7 separate regions of the Homo sapiens genome follow, and all the other regions are linked to region 6. The links are contacts of gene promoters, found by promoter capture Hi-C in blood cells and fetal thymus (Javierre and others, 2016). All regions are on one chromosome and are shown on one strand. The core of a region is centred on a gene start or on the middle of the fragment in contact, and the rest is flanking DNA. Distances in the headings are between cores, read along the strand shown.

Region 1 (3,383 bases), core at 808-3,307, 7.5 Mb after region 6:
GATAAAGAGGGCTATTTAAAGGAAGTGTCTATTTCAGAATGTTATATTACTGTACTGGGAGCTATAAGATGTGTGTGTGTGTGTGTGTGTGTGTGTGTATTACAAAAATATATGACTTGTTTTCTCAGGGAGCTTACCTTCTTGTTAGGGAAAAGAAACTTAAACACTGATAGCAGAATGAAATGTACAGATAGACATGTCTTAGAAGTTTTGAGAAAGACAAGATTAATGTGTTTGGGAAGGGTTGGGGAAGGCTTCATGAAGGATGTGTGTTAAGCCTAGAAAGGGGGTAGGAGTGGATAACTGGAATAAAGTGACTGTTACAGCATCCTTTATCAGATTTTTGTTGCATTTATGTTAGAAAGAAACTTTGTGGTGCCCTTTCAATCCATCTTCCACTGCCACCAGAGCTCTTTTTAAGAAGCTCAGATATGATCATAATATTCCTTCATTAAAATCATTAATCTACTCTAAAATACAAACTTTCTGTATTCATGGTGTGGTCCTTCCCTACTTTTCCCACTCATCCAACCATAAGTGCTGGGATTACAGGCATGAGCCAACTTGCCCAGCTGATACTTCTTTTTCTTCAAGACTCAGTCAACACTTTGTCTTAGGTGTTTTCTGTCTTTTTCTGATTTCCAAACTGATGTAAGTGTCCTCTGCTTTTATGATACTGTAGGCCAGGGGTCCCCAACCCCCGGGCTGTGGACTGGTACAGGTTGGTGGCCTGTTAGGACCCAGCTGCACAGCCTGTGCAAGCGAGCATTACCACTTGAGCTCCGCCTCCTGTCAGATCAGCAGGGGCATTAGATTCTCATAGGAGCGTGAACCTGTTGTAAACTGCACATGTGAGGGATCTAGGTTGCACACTTCTTATGAGAATCTAATGCCTGATGATGTGAGGCAAAACAGTTTCATCCTGAAACCATCCCCCAACTCAACCCCAATTTGTGGAAAAATCGTGTTCCGCAAAACTGGTCCCTGGTGCCAAAAAGGTTGGAGACTACTGCTCTAGGTATCCCCTACTCTAGCACTTACCATTCTGTATTGTACTAGTTTGTTTTCTTGGCTTTTGCCTACATCAGATCCTGAGTTTCTTGAGGGCATGAACTGAGTCATCTTTAATTCCCTAGTTCGGCTCTGTCATGGGTTAGACAGTGTTTATAGAGAGGATAAATGACATAGGATAGTTGAAGAACTTTTAAGCGTAATTGACAGGCATTTGGAGATGCCTAGTACAAACATGAATAGAAACATTCTTTTTGCAGAAGTAATAGTTGTGTACCTGAGCATATATAACCTGACCTGGGTAGTGGGAAATCAGTGGGCCAATTTTAGAAGGCAGGGAATGGTACCAGTCTGTATAGCCATAGTATTTTATTATCTTTAAAAAACAGAACAGAACAAAGCAGTTTCTTTCGCTTCTTATCAATGCTTGTCAAATAGAGTTCGGATTTCTCATCTTGGATTTCAGAGCCTCCCTCAATCTGGTCTTACTTTACCTGGCTAATCTTATATGCCATTGCCTGCCAATGGGTACTCTCTGTTCCAAATAGGACAGTTTCTACACTGTTCTTTGAACAGGCCACACTCATTTTTGGCTTTGGAGCTTTATTCATGCTGTTACTCATACCTAGAATATCTTTCTATGATATCCCTGTTCTCCAACTCTTGTCATCCTTGAAGGGTTAGGTCAGGGTCACCCTATCCATGAAGTGTTATTTAACTACTCCAGATGATCTAAATGATGATCACCTCTTTTAAAATTTCTGAAGCATGCATTTAAATACCTTTATTGTTTTATCTATTCATTGCTTGACTGGTTATAATCTAGCTAGGTCTACCAAAGTCCACCTGCTTATGGGGTGAGTTTCCTGCTTTTAAAAGCCCCCCTCTGTAAATGGTGGGAACACAGTTTCCTCTCCTAAATATTTCTCAGGAATTTCAGGGAGCTTGTGTTTCTTTTAGTGACATCTTACTTCGCTTCCTTTGGAGCACTTTCTGCTCTATTTTAGAAGGTACTTACATCTTGTCTCTTGAGCCTGTCTCTTTGGCGTCTGCCTTGATTTCTCTAAAGAATCAATCACAAAGCAGATATTTATAGTAGGGCTTTATTGAAAATTTGGGAGGAGTGGTAGGGATTATATCCCAGCATAGTGAACAGCTTAAAATGCTTTTATTTAGAAGTTTTTTGGACATTCCCACTGCTGGAAATTTCTTGACTTTTTTTTTTGTCCTGAGTCTCAGCCCTGTTGCCTGCTGCTGGGCCTTTCTTTACCCATTGGGTGTCCTTATATCTCCAGCTTCTTACTCCCTGCACTACGTTACTGCTAACCCCTCTACAACTTTCCTGCAAACTTCAAAATTCAGCTTTCCTTCCTTAAATCTGCCCCATTCAAATCAAGCTCTAGAAGGGGCTGGCTTCACTTTTCTCAGTTTCACAGGCGCACTGGGTGTTTTGCAAAGTGCAAGCATGAATCATGTGAGGGGCTAGAGCGGCTTGAGACCCTTACAGTTACCCATGAGTAGATGTTATATGGCCCCGTTTGGATCCTCAAAATAAAAAAGAGATGCTTAAGCAACCTTGGATGGAAAAAAAAGCATTGAAGAATTTGCCAGCCAAAGTAGCTGTGTACTGAACCCAACTGAGGCAGATCAGGCCCAGAGCAGTGTTCTGAGAACTGTGTAGCTGTCTGTGGTCTGCTAGGGGGAACTGAGTACAGGTTGTTTAATTAATTATATGTCCCAGTTACTGGCACATTCACATCCTTGGGTAGGCATTCTATTTCAAGGCTTTTGCTCTTGCTGTTTCCCCTGCCTGAAGTGCTCTTTCCTCAGATACTCACATTGCTTACTCTCCCCACTCTTTCAGTCTTTTTTCAGACATCCTTTTAGTGAGACCTTCTATTGCCATTCGATTTATTTTTATTTATTTATTTATTTTGAGACGGGGTCTCACTCTCTCACCCATGCTGGAGTGTAATGGCACCATCTTGGATCATTGCAACCTTTGCCACCCAGGCTCAAACAGTCCTCCTACCTCAGCCTCCCAAGTAGCTAGGACTACAGCCACACGTCACCACACCTGGCTAATATTTTTTGTAGAGACAAGGTCACGTTATGTTGCCCAGGCTGGTCTCGAACTCCTAGGCTCAAGCGATTCTCCCACCTCAGACTCCCAAAGTGCTGGGATTACAGGCAAGAGCCACTGTGCCTGGCCCCTGCCACTCAAAATAGCATCCTGTCTACCTTCCAGACTTTACTTTTCTCCTTAGCACTTATCACTATAAAATATGCTATATATTTTACATATTTATCTTGTCTGTTGTATATGTTTGCAGTATATACATACTGCTAGCATTTAAGTTCCACAAAGGCAA
Region 2 (3,170 bases), core at 640-3,139, 6.3 Mb after region 6:
TTCTCTTTTCATTATCTATTTTGTCAATGATGTTAGAGATCTTTGCTTGGTCTGAAACTCTCTTCCTTTTTCTTATTCTATCACATATTTATCTCCCTGCATTTATCCCTCTTCCTCACTCAACTCTTTTATCTCCTTTTACACTCTCTTCCTATTCTTTGTTCCCCCGACTCCCTACATGTATATACACAGATATGGTTGCACATAATCTTTTTGGATATGTATTTGCTCTTTCCACTTCGGAAAGCCAACCATTAAGAGCTTTCCTTTTTGTAACGAATCTGCTTAATGAAGCTGTCTGAATCTACTTTTTAGAAACAAATTCAAATTCCATGTTTACATGGTATGTAATTCTAAGAAATTTGATCTCTATCCTCATTCAAATTGCTGATCATTCTTATTGTATATGTGCCTTAATTGGGAAAACAATAATGATAATGCCGATCAAAGACAAAAGGCTAATCTAGTGTGTAAAGATCTCCTAGAAATTGAGAACAAAAATATCAGTAACCCAATGGGCAAAAGACATGAACGGAAAAAGAAATAAAAGTGATATCCAAACTAATGAAAAGGTGTCCAATTTCACTCATAATAAGATAAATTCAAAGTGAAACTATACCTAAGTACCTTACCTAGTTCTTACCTATAGAATTATTAAACATTCAAATGTTTGAGGTGTTATTTTATTGGTGATATTGGGTACGGGTACATTGCCTAGTGGGAATGCACAGTGATATAACCCCAACTGAGATGCATTTGGCAATATTTACCAAAATTACAAATACATTTACCTTGACTTGGAACTCCCACTTCTGGAAAAACGATACTGTAGACACCCTGCAGGATATGAAATTAGGCATTGTTTATCATATCAAAAGATTAGAAATAGTTCAAGTATCCAGTAATAGGGGGTTAGTTGAATAAACTAATGGTTTATTCATACAATGGAAACTATGCAGTTGAGAAGAAAAAAGGAGTTTGTCAATGTATTTATTATGGAGAGATTGCCAGTGTATATTGTTCAAGTAAAAAAAAAATGCAAGGTGCAGAATGTTATATTTAATGTGCTAGTTTTTGCATAAGGAGAGGAGGGAAGTGGGTAATTTATATTGCTTATGTATGCATGTGGAATTACCAGAAGACTAAACAAGAAACTTATAAAAGTGGTTACCCACCTATTAAAGATGGGAAGAGACTTCTGTGTATACTTTTTCTTTTATATAGTTTCAAGTTTTGAATTGCATAAATAAATCACTCAAAATAAAGTTAATTAAAAGAAATGTTTTGAAAATCACAATCCTCATGAAAATTAAATGTATTGTAAAATATATATAAAAAGAATATAATAAAAATATTTATACAGATGAAATAATATTTTACCTATTATCCATTTTGTTGGTGGTGGACATTTGGGTTCTTCCTATTTACTATCTCTGGACAATGTAGCTATGAATAGTTTTATATCTGCACGTGAAAAAGTACAAAAGTTTTTATCAGGTTTATGTCTAGGGATGATATTATTGGTTCTTAGCATATTCAACTTTGCTGGATAATACCAGCCAGTTTCCCAAAGTGCACCACTGTTTTCCAGGTTATACTTGTATGTACTTCCACCAGCAGTGGAAGAGAGAGTATTGATTGTTCCACATATCCTTGTCAATACTCACTAAGTATTTTAACTCATTTTCTGAGCTGCTTCGTCATTTTGTTAATAATTGCTCATAATTTTCCATTAATTACATGTAACCCTTAATTGAAATAATTGAAAATATATTTGTTCTTTTTCATTCTTTCAGATGTTTTCATCTTCTGCCCCTGTGGATCAGGAGATTAAAAGCCTTCGAGAGAAACTAAATAAACTTAGGCAACAGAATGCTTGTTTGGTCACACAGAATCATTCCTTAATGACTAAATTTGAATCTATTCACTTTGAATTAACACAGTCAAGAGCAAAAGTATGTATCTTGAAATAAGTTTGCCAACAGAAAATAGTTGTTATTTTAAGATTTATAATTGGAAAAATATTCCTTGTATTGCCACATTGCCTTAATGTGTTATGGGAAGTAATTTTCATTATAATACTATAGTATCAACATGTTGTAAAATCAATATTGTATGAATTATATCTGAAAATGATTGAAGGGAACTTTACAGTTTTTGCATTTAGATAAGTCAGCTTCTTAAGGTGTTAAGATTACCAATTTGTGTGGTTTTATTTTTTATACAAAGGAAGTATAACTTACTTATCTTCCCTTTTAAAATAACACATTGTCATTGTTGAAAATTTTAAAAGTAGCAAAAAGAGGAAGAAAGATCACCCAGAGTTTCCACCTAGAAACCACTTTACCAGTTTAATACGTAGTTGAATCCAGACTGTTTTAAATAGTTTTGGTGTTTTCTGTTTTTTACTTTATATATAGTCTGTGCATTTTCTGATGCATTTACATAGCTTTTCCATTGAACATTTTTTATGGTAGCATTATATTTCATGTGATTATATCATAATTTAGTTAATAATTCCTGTATTTCAGTGGTTTCCTATTTTTTTACTAAATGATTGGTATTACACAAAAAATTAGAAGAAACCAAAATGTCCAGTAATGGAGACATAGTAAATTATGGTATACCCATAAGATAGATTGCAACAAAACCTTTTTTTAAAAAAATGAGGCAAATATACTAGTACTAAGATGCAAAGTTGTTTGACTTGTATGGAGCATTATAAGGTTTAAATGATATAATATATGTAGTCACTTAAAACAGTGTCTATGTGTAGTCAGCACTCAAAAACAATTACCTAATATATTTAGTGGCAGAAAAACATTACAGAGCAGTACACACATGTATAATACTCTTAGTTTTCCTCTTTATAAGAAGTGTGCATGTGTCTGTGTGTGTGTGTTTGTATGTAAATATATATACATGTGATATATTAAGGTTAGAAACTATGCTTCACACTGTTGATAATTTCGAGAGAGACTGGAAGGTTGGAGTGAGGCTTTCACTATTTACTTTTATAAACATTGTATACATACATTATATGTAGTTTTAAATAGAGGAGTTATGGGAAGACTTTATTTTTCTTTTCTGTTTTTTCAAACAAAACAAAATGCTATTAGGGATTATTTCAGCACAGGAAAAACAAAATGCAGCAATGAACATAAAACTTC
Region 3 (3,438 bases), core at 132-2,631, 8.3 Mb after region 6:
GCCTCCTAATTAGTTTAATTCCATGTTCTGGCATCAATAAGTAATTGAATTATAAAAGAATTCAGTGTAACAACTTAGGACATTTTGTTGCTGAGAGGTAGAATAATTCAGTGATTGAAATGGGGATGTTTGATGTTCACAAGTGGGAATTAAGGGGGTAAGGTAAAGGCCTTTTTTTTTTTTCCCATGATTTTCGTAACATCTTTTTACAAAGTAAGGACTTCTTTAACAGACCACAGTAAACATGCAGCAGACTGCTGGCTACCACTCACCATCACTGTCAGTTTGGGTTGGAGGATACACACTTGATACCAGAACACTCTAAACACTAGTTCTTTTCTGGCCTCCCCCAAATAAGGTTCTCCCTTTTGCCACTGGAATCAGGAGAATGTTGCAGAGGAATTGCATTCCTGGTAACAAGATAACCCAGCAAGACTCAGACTGCTAACCCAAGGATCAACTATTAAGGCCGTAAGATTGAAGAAGCTAAATAATTGGATTCCATTTAGCTGGACTAATTTTATGCTGAGAATTTCAGGGGATTTTATCTGCCTTTTGATCTCTTTACAATGGTTATAGTAAGCTTCTAGTAAGAGGCATAACCATCTCTTAGGGGTGCAAATTAAGTAAGTCCCTACACTCCCATCTACAAGGGAGGGCTGTGGATAGACCACATTAGGGATATTCTGTTTTTCTGTATGCATTGTAGTCAGTCCAGGTGCCAGATTTGATGGGGTGACCTGCCATGTACGTGATACTTGAAATGCATCTTACTTGATGAGGGGTACTATTGGTCTTACTTCACAGAGAAGATAACTGATACTCAGACTGGTTAAATAACCACCAGGCTCCAGGTGTATGGGCCTTTGCACTGCATCATGCTCCTTAATAGAGAGATGGGGCTGTTGCATCAGGAAAATAGTTCTTGGAAAGCAAGGAAATACTTGTGCAGAAAGAGCGATAATGAGCACCCAGAGAAAAGATATGAGTGTGAGCCAACTTATGTTCAGAACAATCCCAAAGGGGAGTGTTTGTGCATGTATGTGTGGATCTATGAGAGGCGTGAGATTGGTATTGTATCACCATTTTCCTGATGAGGAAATTGAGTGACACAGATTATGTGGCCATAGTCAATGTTCGTTATATGTGGGAGTTGTGCTTCTGGAAAGAATCTTACAGATAAAAAAGTTGTAAGATGGGAGAACCCAATATCATGTAATAGGTTTTCACAGAAGCTGCAGAGTGAATTTTTGTATTTTAGCAACACTAATGTTCAAATTAGTTTGGGCCTTCTTATAAAATGAATCATGACTGTCACACATTGACCCCTCTAAATCTGCTCAGCTCGGTTTTATGCTGATTGTCAGTATTGAGCTGACTTCTATAAAACCGATGAGATTGCTACTTTTAGCTTCATTTATTTTTAGTTTTTTTTTTTTTCTTCTGAAGCTACATTGAAACTTATGTAAAAATCCAACTGAAGCATAAAACAAGCACTGGTGTATGCTTGCCTGGGAGCTGCCTGGGAGCAAGAGGAGACAGTCTTGTCTTACCAAGTATGAGAGGGTGCTGAAGGTTTCTTGGTGGTTTTCTTCAAAGTTGTATCTTGAGGATATATAACAATTGCAAAGAAAAAAAACACAAGTGTAGGGAAGGTCAGATGTATATGGTATGTAAACAATTTCTTAATGGGCTCTTAGTGAATCCTGAAAAACCCATTCTCTTAAATTTTACCTTTTTTTAAAAATGTCTTCTGTTATTTGACTGCATTTATAGAGTTTCTGTTGTGTGTTGTATTTTATTAAGTAGAATGAAACCTTAAAAATAGCATTAGTGTGAATTTGGAGTTCTAAAAGTTTAAGTTTCTCTAGTTTGAATTTCTGTTTGGAATGTGTTTAGGAGCTTACTTTCTGATGTTTGTAAGGAAGCATAAGGTTTGAAACCTGTTTCAGTTTGTGTTTTAGGTATGAAAATGATACACTTACTATAAGACAGAATGATTTGGTTAGAAACAACAAGTAGTCAATTTGTATCAACTTGAACAAGAGGGCAAGACCCTTTTGGTAGGGTCTTTAGAATACATGAAAACACCCTTGGACTTATGGAGATTTTAGTTTTCTGGGGCAAGCCTTAAGTTTTCTAGGGCATAGATGTTTGTTGAGAATGATCAGTTTGTGAATTAAGCTTATTAACTAAGGTTCTGGGGGGCTAAGGAGGGGCAGAGATTAGTATTAGATTTAGAGCATAATTATTTTTCTGCTAATCACTGTTTCTAAGCTGTTAATAACCTTAAAGCAGATAGGGGCAACTTTGTTTTCTTTTTTATTATGGCAAAAAAAGAAAACAAAAAATCAGACTTACAGTGCATGTGTCATATGAAAAATTCTGAGGCAGAAAGGAGCCAGTTTAATTGCTTGTACAATGTCAAGCAGATGAGATATGGAAGAGTACAATACATACTTCTAGAGTTTTTGGGAGAAAATGAGTTTTTAAAAGTATGTAATTTTATTGCCACATTAAATACCAGAAGAATGGAGTATGTTATTGGGCTTTTCAGTTTCTTGTAGAGATGACAGTATCATTTTGTATAATCTTATTTTGCAGCTACAGTGTATGTGTGGGTGGGCAGGGGGATTTACCAAGACCAATTAGGAAGAATGCTAATCCTTTCCAATTCTTAAAAGAACTAAGGCAGTTTTCTTCCGAACATATAACTAGTATGACGGTCACAGTTTTCTAAGGTGAAAGTCAGGAGTTTCACCCATTGCTATTCTGTTTGCTGACTAGGACCAGAAAATAACACAGAGAAAAATGAAAATTGGTAAGGACTGACATGGCTGGCTCAGTAGCTTTTCAAGACTTTCCCCCTGGACTACCAACATGTTTCTTTCCTGTGGTTCCCTGCACCAGAGAGGACCCGGTAGGTGTTTATATGGCACAGGTTGGAGAACACTGTGGGTCTCAGGGTTTTGATCAGAAAAGGATTCTTCAAAGTTTGCAGCATAGCATCTTGCTTCAGTGCGGATACATTGCCTTCTTTTGTAGTAAAATCTCTGTCTCCTCCTTATAGGGACCCTTGTGATTACATTCAGGGCTCACCTGGGTAATCCAGGATAATACTCCCCTCTCGAAATCGTTAACTTAATCATGTCTGCAGAGGCTCTCTTGCCATGTGAGGGAGCGTATTCACAGCTTCTGGGAAACAGAATGTACACATCTTTGGGCCCATTATTTACCACAGGTACCAGGGATTTCTGCACCTGTGAGATCCGTGATTACAAGCTACTAGCACAATTCCAAGAGCTGTATGACTGTACAATTTAAAAGTTTTTTGTATCCCCCCATTTTGGTTGTTGTTTAAAAAGAAAATCAAGATATTTCAGTGCTGGAAAAAATGTTAATTTAGTTTAACCACAATAATTCTGGACATGAAAATAC
Region 4 (3,174 bases), core at 49-2,548, 9.2 Mb before region 6:
TTTTCTCCTTAGGCTAAAATCAAGAGGATCAAATCAAATATTTATTGAAACCTTAGTATCTGCTTAATGCCTGGAGCATGGAAGGAGTCCTGCCTTCTAATTATGTAACTGTTAAAATGCACTCGATTGAGGTTCAAATCTATGAATAAAAAAGGTTATATTAATAAAAAATTGTTAAAATTGCCAGTTTCAATCTGTCTCATGACATCTGACTTTTTGGTCTCCAAAATGGGAGCATGTACCAAAGTATCATGCAAGATGCTCAGTCTCCATTGGAATAGGTAGAAAATATAAAAGCTTCTACTTATTTTTATGGTAAAAATGAAATAAATTAACCATGATACAAAATTCTAGGTAGGGATTGACACTCAGGCCTCAATTTGCACCACAAATGATTGCCTATCCTCGGTTCACTGAGGAGAATAGAAATTTCACAGAATAGAAGTTTCACAGGCAGGCGCCATGGTTCATGCCTGTAATCCCAGCACTTTGGGAGGCCGAGGCGGGTGAATCACTTGAGTTCGAGACTAGCCTGGGCAACATGGCGAAACCCCATTTCTACTAAAAATACAAAAATTCGCCAGGCATGGTGACAGGCACCTGTAGTCCCAGCTACTCAAGAGGCTAAGAGTGGAGGATCACTTGAGACCAGGAGTTTGAGGTTGCAGTGAGCCATGATTGTGCCACTGCACTTCAGCCTGGGTGACAAAGTGAGATATTCTCTGGGAAAAAAAAAAAAAGATGCCGTTAGGAGATGAAAAGTTGTCTCCAGCCGGGCACAGAGCCTCACACCTGTAATCCCAGCATTTTGGGAGGCCAAGGCGGGTGGATTACCTGAGGTCAGGAGTTCAAGACCAGCCTGACCAACATGGTGAAACCCCCATCTCTACGAAAAATACAAAAATTAGCCAGGTGTGGTGGCGCGTGCCTGTAATCCCAGCCACTCAGGAGGCTGAGGCAGGAGAATTACTTGAACCCAGGAGGCAGAGGTTGCAGTGAGCCAAGATAGAGCCACTGAACTCCAGCCTGGGCAACAGAGGAGGACCCTGTCTCAAAAAAAAAAAAAAAAAAAAAAAAAGCTGTCCACAGAGGAGATCTACAGAAGAAAAAAAAAGAAGAGAGACAGAGAGAGAAGAAAAGTTAGGCCAGCAAATAGAATTTATTTGAAATACATATAATTGAAAAGGGGCTCAACTCCATATGTATTTCCAGAAATCAATTTTTAAAAAAACAGGCGACCAAATAGAAAAATAGACAAAAGTCACTTCCCCAGAAATTCTTCTATTGAAAATGTATCAGGGGTATTCTGTTCTTACAGTGTCCTAGCAAATTCAATTCAGCCTCCAAGTCCCACCACCATCCTGCTTAGTAACCAAGGTTCTCTCTGGGCTTACCTGTCCTGGAGGAGTTCTAGGGCAGTGTCAATGCAAGGAAGACAACTGACAAGGCTGTTCAAGATCACCAGGTGCGGTGGCTCATGCCTGTAATCCCAGCACTTTGGGAGGCCCAGCAGGGCAGATCACCTGAGATCGGGAGTTTGAGACTAGTGCGTAGATAATAGTAGGCAAGTACTTCTCAGGTGGACACCAAGTGAAGTCCTTGCAGTGGACAAGTTCTCACAAAACAAACTCACTCTGATAGAATATAATGTAATACCTCTCCCACTTTTAACTTCCGTGAATTCCTGCCTCCCACCCTTGGGTGTTTATCCTTTCATCCCACAGTCCAGATTGCTTATCTTTTACTTTTCTTCAAACAATATCTCCTGATGGCTTATAATGGCTTATAAGGAAGAACACTATCATTAGGAAATAAATCAATCAACTTCCCCTTGAGAGAATAGATTATACATTCCAAAGTGTGGACACCCAGCTGAGTCACTGATTCTGGAGTAGAATTCTAGAGGGTGTGTGGACACCCAGCTGAGTCATACTGATTCTGGAACAGAATTCTAGAGGTGCCGTTCATGGAGAATATAATGTAAATAGTATGACTTAGAGTTGTGCATCAGGCCAGGTACTGAAGTCTCTTCTAATGAAAGGGAGAAAAAAGAAGAAATGAAGAGTAGGAAGAAAAAGAAGAAAAGAAGTCTCTTCTAATGAAAGGGAGAAAAAAGAAGAAATGAAGAGTAGGAAGAAAAAGAAGAAAAGAAGGAGAGATACAAACAGGGAGGGAGGAAGACAATTGAATGGTCCTATCAAAAACAAATACCTTCTCATTTTTGTAACTGAGTAATGGCAAGTAAAAAATAGCAACGTAGAAAATATACATTTTGGTGCTTATGTACCTGAGACTAAATAAAGCTTTGTAAATGCTGTTTCCTTAGAGACAATTTTACAGATACTCCCAACCTCTATCCTTCCTTCACCTGGCTAACTCCTACCTAGATATTCTCTGTTTAATACAGAACTCTTTACCCCATTATTTCCGGTTTCAGCATCCTGCTTGCTTCCTTTAGAGAATGTATTATAATTTGTAATTATCTTAAATTTTTTGGTATACTTAATTTTTTGCCTGTCTCTCCTGAACTCCTCAATGGGAGCAGTGAGTATTTATCTTATTCACAATATTCCCAGAGCCTAGCATTGAAGGACTCAAAAACTTGTTGGCACTCAACTGGGGGTGGTTTTGTCCCCTGAGTGGATAGTTGGCAATATTTCTGAAGAGGATTGGTGGGAGAAAGAATTAGTAACATTCCTTTGCATTGATATTACAAGAGAGTCCCAGACATCATTAATGCCACTATTGAGAAACTCTGATTTAAGCTGGGGCTTTAAAATATGTCTTTGGGCCGGGCCCAGTGGCTCACGTCTGTAATCCCAGCACTTTGGAAGGCCGAGTTGGGCGGATCACCTGAGATCAGGAGTTCGAGACCAGCCTGGCCAACATGATGAAACTCCATCTCTATCAAAAATACAAAAATTAGCTGGGTGTGGTGCAGGTACCTATAATCCCAGCTACTCGGGAGGCTGAGGCAGGAGAATCGCTTGAACCCGGGCGGCGGAGGTTGCAGTGAGCTGAGATGGCACCACTGCATTCCAGCCTGGGCAACAAGAGCAAAACTCTGTCTCAAAGTAAAATAAAATATGTTTCTGGGCAGGGCGCAGTAGCTCATGCCTGTAATCCCAACACTTTGGAAAGCTGCGGCTGCTTGAGACCAGAGTTCAAGACCAG
Region 5 (3,267 bases), core at 253-2,752, 6.2 Mb after region 6:
ATGGGAATGCATCTACTTTTTTTTTTTTTTTTTTGAGATGGAGTTTTTGCTCTTGTTGCCTAGGCTGGAGTGCAATGGCACGATCTTGGCTCACCACAACCTCTGCCTCCTGGGTTCAAGCGATTCTCCTGTCTCAGCCTCCCGAGTAGCTGGGATTACAGGCATGTGCCACCACACCTGGCTAATTTTTGTATTTTTAGTAGAGACGGGGTTTCTCCAAGTTGATCAGGTTGGTCTCGAATTCCCGACCTCAGGTGATCTGCCTGTCTCGGCCTCCCAAAGTGCTGGAATTACAGGTGTGAGCCACCGCGCCCGGCTGCATCTGCTTTTTTTAAGTCAAAATTTTCCTCAGCCAACGTATGAAGGTCACTTAAGACGAATTTATGAGAGACGATGATGAGAATTGAAATAAAGTGAAACCTGAAAGGTAGTAGGTAAGTAGATACAGTGAGGGTACAGTAAGAAGACAGACTTAAAAGATTAGGACTATTATTCAGGAGAAGCAGAGGAGTGGAAGGGTATGACCACAATATTTAAAGTATTGAATGGTATTGGATAAAACGAATATGCTTATTTGCCAAATTCTGAGATCACAGGCTGAGGGAACCCCTTTTGAAGTATGAGCCAAATGAGCTTAGACCACAAAAGGTACTTTTTCAGAGACAGAAAAAATATGGTGTTCACTATCCCTGTGGCATAATATGGGACAAAAATATAAAATGGCTTTAAAAATATTTTGACGAAATTATAAATAAAGATTCCACACGTGGCTACTAAGAGGAGCTGGGTTGTATCTAGGTGTAAGTTAAAGAGACAAGCATACAATCTCACAGCTTGTCAGTTGGGACCCCTGTAGGCAGCAGAATCTGGGCAGGCTAAGGGTCTGCACTAATAAACAATTCTGTTTTCTTAAACCATTTTGCAGGGGACTATTCTCAGATTTCATTACAACTAGGAAGGACTGCAAAGCGGGTAAACAGAAAACAACCTTTCATCGTTAGGAAAAAAATCGTCTGAAAGTCTTTCATAAAAGCAGCTCCTGATAAGGAGTTTGGGACTGGACAGTGAATCGCTGAATAAAATTTAATCTCGACATCCTGGGTCTTCTCCCCTCTGAAGGAAATTCTAACAGCAGGCCTTAGGATGAAAGTAGAGGAAACGTGCTTCAGTTAAGGTTTTCTCCAGGGAAAAGAAATCGGCCCAGCAAGATGCACAGAGCACCGTTACGACCACGCACACCGAAGGTCGCACACGACCCTTTTCCTGTATAACAGTGCCAGCCTGCCGACGATCAGGAGCGCAGCTTTCACTATTGTGTTAGCCCCGGCGGCGGAAGGACTGAGCCTCACTGCAACGTTAAAGAGTCCTTCTTTGTTCAGCCCCAGTCGGGGACGCAGGGCGCGGTGTTCCTCCGCGCTCGCCGCGCAGTCCCTGCCCCCCCGCGGCTTTGGAGAGCTGCCATTCGGCACCGGAGTCGCTCCGCGCTCCCAGAATGCACCGGCAGTCCGCGGGAAACCAAAATGGCGAGGGGCTGTATTGAAGTGGGCTGTGTTTGAGGCCGGTGTAAGAACGCTCATTCTACCCCCAACCCTTGTCTCCAAGGACCTCGGTTTGTGCGTGCATATGTGCCGGGTACCCGGTGGGGCGGGTGCCCAGTAAGTGCTCGGACTCGCAGGGGAAGCGCCCACGGGGACGGATTGGTTGTTTTTTCCTGTATGAAGCGGTTGGCACCACTGAAGTGACCGAATGAGGTGAGAGACCTTGGCCTGGGAACCGACTCTTCCGGAGGAGATGGGGGTTGGGGGAAGGAGGAAGAAAGGAAGCAAGTATAAAAGGGAAAGATGGAGGACCAAGGTGGGGGTGGGGGCTCCTGTATGTGGGTGCCTTTGCATTTATGTGTATATTGAAAAGAATGGATGAAGAGGAGTAGTCAGTTGAGTGTTGGGAGAAAATAGGGACTAAAGGAGCGAGGAGGTCGTTGGGGGAGTCTGTTGGAGGAACAAGATGAAACGTTGAGACGGGGAAGCTGTGTTTGGAGGGCAGGAAGGAACCTGGGGGCGGGAGACGGTTGGAGGGGCAGGATGAACCTGGTGACGAGGGGGTGGGGAGCCGAGAGGAGGAGCCGTTGGGAAATGGGGGCTGAGGGAAATGTGGGGAGCAGAGTGGAGGGCTGCCTGGGACCTTAGCAGTGCGCAAAGGGAAGTAGCAGCTTGGAATCGGAGGGTGGAATTGTATGGAATTGGAGTAAAGGGGGTCGAGTGTAAGTGCTGGTAAGGATAAGGGGAACACACTGAAGTGGAGGTTGGAAGCACAACCTGAAAGCTTAAAGGGAAGCGGTGGGAGGGAAAGTGAGATGGGGGAAAGCTAGGTAGCTTATATTTGGAGCTCACCAAAAATATGAGGCTTTTCTTGTGTTTAATTAAACCTAACTCATATAATCTACGTCTAGGATGTAGATTTGTATTGTATTCATTTTTACAACTGAGGTAATTACGGCTCAAGGAATTTTAACCAATTTGCCAAGATTTCTTAACATATTTCGGTAGTGCCAGAACTCTAACTCTGTGTTTTACAATCTGGTGTCCTTGGTTGCTAGAATTTTTCTTTGGAAGCAATTAGAGGGAACAGATGGATTTATCGGGGTAATCTGACTAACAGCAAGGGTTTGTGAACAATGGGAAAAGGCTTATGGAATGTTACTCTATTCTTTAAAACATTTAACTTTGGTTAAAGATAGAAACCATGTAACACTAACTTAAATGTGAAAACCTAGCTAGGCCTGTGTGTAATACATAGGAAGGCACCATGTGAGGTCAGTACAGAGCTAGAAATATGTAAATAGTACCTGATTTAATTTGACTTCAGAACCTCCGGTAGTAATAGTAGTTACTTTCTCCTTCAGATGGATTCCATGTGACCCTCCTGTATACCTAGCCTACAAGCTGGTTTCAATTTCCATGGTTTCATTCTCTCTTGGGAATTCCTTTTTTTTTTTTTTTTGTCAGTAAATTTCAAAGATAGTTGTATGTAGAAGTAGTTAATGTGGATAAAATGTAATTAAATTCACAATAACCTTTTTAAGATTTGAAAATGCTTTAAAGGGAGTTGTTTTGACTGATGGCTTTAAGTGCCCTATAGTTTAGTTATAACTTGAGAGGGAATACAAAATGACTTGTTTTTTCAGATTCCTAAATATAAAAATGTATTTGAATTCACATTTTAAAATTAGTTCACCTGCAGTTTTTTAAAGTGCTAAAAATGTTCTAA
Region 6 (3,198 bases), core at 699-3,198:
AGCTGACAGCACCAACTATAAACAGTGGTAATCCTGGAACCTTTCGGTTTAGCTGACCTACTAGGTCAACAAAAAGCATAAATGAGGCCAGGGGAAAACCAACATAGGTGGAGTAGTTCTACTCCACTGACCCAGAATTATGAGAAATCATTGCTGTTTTAAGCTACTAGGTTTTAGGGCGGTTACACAGCTATAGACAACTGACAGTCAAAGACAGAGGGAGATCAAAAAAAGACAACCTGAAATGTTATCTCGAATGACCTAAAGATGTGCAAAAACCCTTAAACAGTAGAAAGTTTAGGGAGAGGTGATCCAGTAATTCCTAGCACCAAATGCCTGAATAACAAGATAATTGGAATGTTAATTACAGAAGTTAAGAATCTACCTTTTGGTTAAAGTAGCCAAAGCAAACAGCCAGGATGCTTTCAAGCTCTTTGAGAAAGGTAAGTACAGGTGTTCATAGAGGACTCCGGTGTAGTCCCTTAACACCCTCAACCTTGGATAAGTAAATTAAACCAGGTCTCCTTATTAGAGACTACCCGAAGAATTAAGCTAGGATAAAAAAACGTAAAAGCTTTCAGCACTGTGCCTAAAATTTTACTATTCACACAGCAGAACATGGATATGAGAAGAAATAAGTTAAAAGTACACTTTTCCCATTCAAAGGTCACCCATCTATTCTGCCAATAGAGAAAAATGAAATAAAAAACGCTGCCTTAAAGAAGACAACGAACATCATTTAAAAAACTAACTTCAAAAATGAATTATACTTTGGTATAGATAACTCCTTTTACTCCAACAACATTGTTTAAAAGCACAAATCGCACTCAAGCGCAGCCAGCCGTATATGAATAGCAGAGGAGAACGGAAGTTAAGAGACTAACAGAAGTAGTGAAAATGAGAGAGCACGCGCGCGAGAGAGGTAAACACAAACTGTTCGCCTGGACCAACGACTTGAAGACTTGCCTCTAAGAGTTGGAAGTCTCGTCATGAGTCTCTTGCATTTCTGTCCATTTAAAAACAACCTCCACTTCTTGCCAAGCTTTATTATTCCCCCCTCCCACCTGGTGTGGTTTACAGATTGTTTTTAGCAAGAGCCGTATAAGAGAAGCTACGTACCCAAGACAATCTGAAATCAAGAGAAAACTGCTGCTAGAAACCCAAGGCGGGGAAGGAGAAGGATCAACCGAGAAATTAAGCCACGTTGCATTCTGGCCGCAGCAGTCATTAAGGAAGCGCAGTCCTCCCCACCCTTTTCAACCAGGACCGAATGTTGCGTCTTTCTCAGCTGCAATCACTCCTACTCTCCCTGTGGCAGCTGCGAAGGTGATCTACACTCACCGCTTGAAGCACAGTCGCCAACAACAACCGTAGCCCAAACGCCGGCACCAGACACCCACTCGGCCCAGCCGCCATCGCTACCATTTTCCGCAGGTTTCTGGCTGCCTAGAAGGACCCCTAAGCTAGGGGCGTCCACTCCAGAGCCTGATCCAAAACAGAACGCTAACGGCCGTTGCCCTTACATCTCTCATTTGGAAGTGACAGGTATTAAATAACGGCATATGAAAGCTTAAAAGTCATCAAATACAATCACTGGGTGCTTTCGATTACCCAAATCAGGCACTTGCCTAAACTCCCCACTTCTTTACTTCTGCGGTCTCCTTTCTTTTATTCACGACACTTCGTCAAGCAGCCAAGAAGCCACGCCTTCGCCAGTTTTAGCCCCGCCTTCTTCTCCAAGTTTACCCAATTGAATGTCGTCTTGATTGAGCTCTGTGGCAGAGGAAACCAACCGTAAACCGAACCAAGAGCGAAGCGCAGGGGCTCTTCCGTCCAATAAGCGGACCCGAACGGGGGGAGGGGCGGGGCTTCTGGTTGCCGAGCAGCGTACGCGGATGCGTGCGCGTGGTGGCGGAGGGGGATGGGCGGGGGCGGGGATGAGGGCGGCGCAGCCGCAGCGCCGGTGGAGGGGCGCGCGGCCGCGAGCAAAGGAGGGAGGGAAGGAAGGAAGAGAGGGAGGCGGGCAAGCAGGCGGGCGCGGGGGTCGGGGACTGAGGCAGTAGAGGGAGGCGAGAGCCCGGCAGCCGCTTCGCGCTGTTTGCTGCGCGGGCTTTTGGAGGGGGCGGCCGTTTAGTCGGCTGAGGAGAAGCGGACACCAGCGGCGTTGGTGATAGCGCCTGGGGGAGGGGGACTGGAGAGGCGAGAAGGGGGGTCGCTGCGGTGGTTCTCTCGCTGTCGCTCTCTCTTTGCCTCGCTCCCGGCTCGGCGGGCTCCTCCCGGCGTCTCTCTCGCCTCCGGGGTCCCGCTCCCCGCCCCCCGCGGTATGTCTTGATCCCGAGCAGCGGGTTTCATGGGGCTCCTCAGGATTATGATGCCGCCCAAGTTGCAGCTGCTGGCGGTGGTGGCCTTCGCGGTGGCGATGCTCTTCTTGGAAAACCAGATCCAGAAACTGGAGGAGTCCCGCTCGAAGCTAGGTGAGGAACTGAACTGCCCCGGGCTGAGTGCTGTGGAAGGGGCCGAGGAGGCGCTGCCGCCGGAGCAAGTGGGCGTTCATCTAACCTGGGGTCTGGCTCGGGGGCTGAAAGCGGTTTCAAAGAGAACCGGGAACAAGGGGCAGCGAGAGCACGAGCTCCAAGAATGGGTTGAATTAAGCTTGAGCGGCGTGCTGGGCTCGCGAGGTCACGGGGCAGAGGTTGCAAGGTTGGGCTTCCCTAGCCAAAGGGTAGCCCCGAAGTAGGCATTCCGCGGAGAGAGAGCGAGAGAGAAGACCGAACTCAGTGGGGAGCGTGTGTTGCTGGTCTCCGGAGACAGAAGCGCTTAGCATCGCGTGTTCTCTTGGAAGTCGTACAGGAAGCCCTGGCAATGTCAGATGAGGGGTATTCTAATTTGAGCTATGGGCATCTGGATACGAATTCTTTTGGGGGCTCATGAAGGGATAGGTGCGCAGAAATGGGAGGAGATGCTGGGATGACGGAGAGCAACATGTGAACACTGTAGCGAGTTGCACTCTTGTGCTCCGGGCAGCAAAGGACCTTGTAATTGCCAGCTGAGGGAGGCTGGCCGGGTAGTGCGGGAACGCGAGTGCAAAGCTTCATCGGAGTACGGAAATGAGGGTCCGGAGATTTAAATTCTTCTTTAGTGGCGCTAAACTGATGAATTGGGGCTTGAGAATAGGGATGCCTATGTATGTTGCTTCAC
Region 7 (3,235 bases), core at 241-2,740, 9.8 Mb after region 6:
GTCTATCCAATTTAAAAGTAATATTATTTATGGCCGGGCACGGTGGCTCACGCCTGTAATCCCAACACTTTGGGAGGCTGAGGAGGGCAGATCACCTGAGGTCAGGAGTTCGAGACCAACCTGACCAACATGGAGAAACCCTGTCTCTACTAAAAATACAAAGTTAGCTGGGCGTGGTGGCGCGTGCCTGTAATCCCAGCTACTCGGGAGGCTGAGGCAGGAGAATCGCTTGAACCAGGGAGGCCGAGGTTGCAGTGAGCCGAGATTGCGCCATTGCACTTCAGCCTGGGCAACAAGAGCGAGACTGGGTCTCAAAAAAAAAAATTCTAAAAATTATACACAATATCATTTAGTATATGAAATTCCAATTAGCAAAGGATAAGAGCTTTGCCTGAAGGAGACACAGAAAAACCCAGAGTGAGTATTGAGAGTAACTGGAGGGACACAGGGAGTATTTGTCATTTTTCAGAATTAGAAGTGCATTTGTCCTTGTGTGTGTTGGGGGTGGAGGTGAAGGGTGCAGGAGAAGGATGGGTACTGGCAAAGTCGCTACTCACTGAGCAAATTTTCAAGCGGGTGCCTTTCCCAATTTTGTTGAGCCTCTGATAAAAACACGTTGAAGTAAAATGTCCACTATAGTATCAAGTAAAAATTGAGACCGTAAGATATAGCAAAGGGAGTCAATTTGCATAGCCCATTTTAATGCTTCTACTTTCTCTAACCAATCTGAAGACTCAGTTGTTCCCACTCCCATCTCCACTTTCCCTTTCATGCCTCCAAATGTTAAACTCCAACTATTGTAGCATTTTAACACATGGCTCCATTTGTGTCTATTTCCACCTAGCGTATTGTGAATATTTTCTACAGGCGCACACTAATCACCAACTGAAGTGAGAATCACATTTTCCTCCACTTGGCTTGGTACTACAGGTCTTGAAGCAAAAGCCTGTATTTCAGTCTGAGGAGTTCTACTTGCTTGAGAAAGTACTGTTGTTACCAAGTGGTCTCGTTCAGTGGGGTAAAGATTTTTGTTTTAGAGGCTGGAGCCGGTCTGCAAATAAAAGATGGCTTAGGAGAAAAGCTATCCAATGTTTTTTCCTTGGCCCGCATAGGTTGACGGTAGCCAAGCTGGTACTTGGCTTGGAGTGAAAAGTGGAGGCTGCCTGGGGGCGTCCTGCAGTCAGGGCAGAGAGAGTGTGGAGAGCTGTTGGGAGGTGTCCCACCCACGCCCCCACAAGGAGGGGAAACCAGGTCGCCGCGGTCTGCAGCAGAACGCCAGGTTCCAGAGGACGGCAGGCGGAGGGCGGAGGGAGAAAGGCGCGCGAAGGCGCGGAGGAGGCGTCGGCTGCGGCGCCCACTCCCCCTAGTCCCAGCGCCCTGCCGCTCGCCTCCCGCTGCCGGGCGCCGGCGCGCTCGGCTCTTTCCGCCGCCGCCGCTGCCGCGCGGTGGCCCGTGCGCCTCGGCACCTTCGGCAATTTCCGTCGGGCCCCAGCCGCCATTTTCTCGCCGCTTGTGTGGCTCGCTGGCTGCGTGGCTCGGTTCTTGTGAGCGAAGCTTTGTCCGGTTCGGCAATGGACGGGTATGTAATCGGGCCGGCGAGAAGGTGTGTGTGAGAGAGGAGTTGGACCGTCCTTCGGCCCGGTCCCGGGCCGGGGAGAAACCCTCCCGCGGCCCCTCCCAGGGCTGGGCTGCCGTTACCCAACCCCCGCCCCATCGCACACACCCCTCCCTTTGCTTCCCCCGGCGGGCTTTGGTCGAGAAAATGAGAAGAAAGCGGGCTTGGAGGCTGGGGAGGCATAGGGGCGATGGCGGGGGTGAGGATCCCGGAGTGGGAGCGGGCACCGGCTTGGCGGCGGGGGATGGGGTGGGAACCCCATAACGTCTCCCCGGTCTGTCCCTGCCCCCTCTAGGAGCCATTTCGATCCGTACCTTGGGACCCGACCCTTGGGTTAGCGGTGCCTGTGAGAGCGAGTGGGATGGGCAGAGACAGGCCTTTGGATTGGGGGAGCCTCTAGGGGAAGAGGAGAGAGGCACCCCATGTGGACCCCAGCCATGAGCAACCTCTCCGGCCTCGCCCGGCCCTCCGTGGTCGGGAGAGATGCCGGTGGCGGGAGCTCCGGGGAAAGCCTAGTGGGAGCCGCTGGGGAAGGGGGGAGGGCGTGCGGCGGCGGGAGGAAGGGGGAGGGCAGATGTCATACTCCTTTGTTTTCATTTGAGTCTGGTAGTGGGGGCGGGAGGGAGGAAAAAATGCCTTTTTGTGGGGACTGAAAACATTCAAGGCTTGGCAAAAGGGCCCAGAAATTAAATCATCTAAAAAACGAAGTGTTTGAAGCCGACATCAGTCACATGGGCAAAGGCCAACAGCAATGGCAGAAACAAGAGCAGATAGTCAACAAAGGGCTATCTCTTTAGCTACTTTGGTCAGTTTCTGGAAAAACGACTATAAAAACCCAGAACCATGCTGCATCTTTGCGAACCTGAGTCAAGACGGAATGCTGAGTGAGGTGAGAGGCAAGACTGTGAAATGGTAGGGACCGATGTCTCGCTCATATGCTTCACACCTGAAAAGACTCAGTAATTTAACTCAATGTTAGAAAGGGGGCACGCTTAAGGTCAAAAATACAGCAGTATGCAGCTCTTTTGGGAGTGTAAACATAGTATCATTTAACAAGTACATTTATTAAAATCAGTGAGTATTTGAAGAATCAACAATTTGGTTAAGCGCCTAGAGTTTGGTGTGTTTTAAAAGGTACTAAAAACAAGATTTTATAAAAGTTAACACAGTCTCACAGAATTCAAATCATCCTAGATGTTACCTAAAGATTATTTTCCAGATGAAACAAATCCAGAGAAGTTCAGTATTCCCCCCAGATCAACACGGAAATTGATGTCAAAACTTGCACTAGAATTCATGTTTCCTGATTCCTGGTTCCTGTGGAGACTACTAAAGAGTTTAAGCGTTAAATTATTAATCTCAGTATACTGGCATTGTAGAAATGGCATAGTGTTTTGGGTTTTGTTCTTTTTGGCTATTGAATGTGTTGTTAAAAAATACCACAAGTTGTCTCACATTTGAAAGTTACTTTTAGAAAACCAGGTTGGTAACAGTACAGGTAAGTCACGGATCATCTGTGGTATTTTTTATCCCCATCTGTGTGTGAGTGGCTGGAAGATTTATGAATGATGGACTATCCTAAAAAGTTTTAGAGCCAAAGAGTGAGTGATTAGAAGAATA

What was found. Contacts are between HindIII fragments. The CHiCAGO score rates a contact against its expected background, and 5 or more counts as called.
Region 1: a contact is called between a fragment that was not itself captured here and the fragment with the promoter of HS2ST1 in region 6, in 3 of 17 cell types (total CD8 T cells, naive CD8 T cells and total CD4 T cells). The highest score is 7.0, in total CD8 T cells.
Region 2: a fragment that was not itself captured here is called in contact with the fragment with the promoter of HS2ST1 in region 6 in 1 of 17 cell types (total CD4 T cells); the score reaches 6.3 in total CD4 T cells.
Region 3: a contact is called between a fragment that was not itself captured here and the fragment with the promoter of HS2ST1 in region 6, in 2 of 17 cell types (non-activated CD4 T cells and naive CD8 T cells). The highest score is 10.7, in non-activated CD4 T cells.
Region 4: a contact is called between a fragment that was not itself captured here and the fragment with the promoter of HS2ST1 in region 6, in 2 of 17 cell types (non-activated CD4 T cells and total CD4 T cells). The highest score is 10.5, in non-activated CD4 T cells.
Region 5: a contact is called between the fragment with the promoter of MTF2 here and the fragment with the promoter of HS2ST1 in region 6, in 1 of 17 cell types (non-activated CD4 T cells). The highest score is 6.4, in non-activated CD4 T cells.
Region 7: a contact is called between the fragment with the promoter of PTBP2 here and the fragment with the promoter of HS2ST1 in region 6, in 3 of 17 cell types (naive CD4 T cells, total CD4 T cells and fetal thymus). The highest score is 8.5, in naive CD4 T cells.

What each region holds. Positions count from the first base shown.
Region 1 is chr1:94,421,494-94,424,876 of GRCh38, forward strand. The region is part of intron 1 of ABCD3 (ATP binding cassette subfamily D member 3); the gene reads left to right. Among named protein-coding and RNA genes, the nearest start is that of ABCD3, 4.8 kb to the left of the region's middle. The HindIII fragment of the contact is 5,695 bases long and covers 1-3,383 here.
Region 2 is chr1:93,184,549-93,187,718 of GRCh38, forward strand. It overlaps CCDC18 (coiled-coil domain containing 18), which reads left to right. Exons shown (of 29, transcript NM_001378204.1): 4 at 1,797-1,955. Among named protein-coding and RNA genes, the nearest start is that of CCDC18, 5.4 kb to the left of the region's middle. The HindIII fragment of the contact is 7,524 bases long and covers 1-3,170 here.
Region 3 is chr1:95,236,990-95,240,427 of GRCh38, forward strand. The region is part of intron 7 of TLCD4-RWDD3 (TLCD4-RWDD3 readthrough); the gene reads left to right. All of the region lies in intron 1 of RWDD3 (RWD domain containing 3), which reads left to right. Among named protein-coding and RNA genes, the nearest start is that of RWDD3, 4.5 kb to the left of the region's middle. The HindIII fragment of the contact is 1,601 bases long and covers 582-2,182 here.
Region 4 is chr1:77,760,315-77,763,488 of GRCh38, forward strand. No RefSeq gene overlaps it. Among named protein-coding and RNA genes, the nearest start is that of USP33, 2.0 kb to the left of the region's middle. The HindIII fragment of the contact is 2,006 bases long and covers 296-2,301 here.
Region 5 is chr1:93,077,781-93,081,047 of GRCh38, forward strand. MTF2 (metal response element binding transcription factor 2) reads left to right here and starts at 1,503. Exons shown (of 15, transcript NM_007358.4): 1 at 1,503-1,751. The coding sequence starts at 1,747. RefSeq lists enhancers at 1,066-1,315, 1,252-1,546. The HindIII fragment of the contact is 3,598 bases long and covers 1-2,320 here.
Region 6 is chr1:86,912,687-86,915,884 of GRCh38, forward strand. It overlaps HS2ST1 (heparan sulfate 2-O-sulfotransferase 1), which reads left to right and starts at 1,949. Exons shown (of 7, transcript NM_012262.4): 1 at 1,949-2,474. The coding sequence starts at 2,351. SELENOF (selenoprotein F) reads right to left here and starts at 1,440. Exons shown (of 5, transcript NM_004261.5): 1 at 1,342-1,440. The coding sequence starts at 1,425. RefSeq lists enhancers at 737-1,351, 1,200-1,249, 1,352-1,966, 1,360-1,519, 1,570-1,689. The HindIII fragment of the contact is 1,083 bases long and covers 1,568-2,650 here.
Region 7 is chr1:96,720,294-96,723,528 of GRCh38, forward strand. PTBP2 (polypyrimidine tract binding protein 2) reads left to right here and starts at 1,491. Exons shown (of 14, transcript NM_021190.4): 1 at 1,491-1,579. The coding sequence starts at 1,572. RefSeq lists silencers at 1,257-1,456, 1,687-1,966. The HindIII fragment of the contact is 2,234 bases long and covers 1-1,552 here.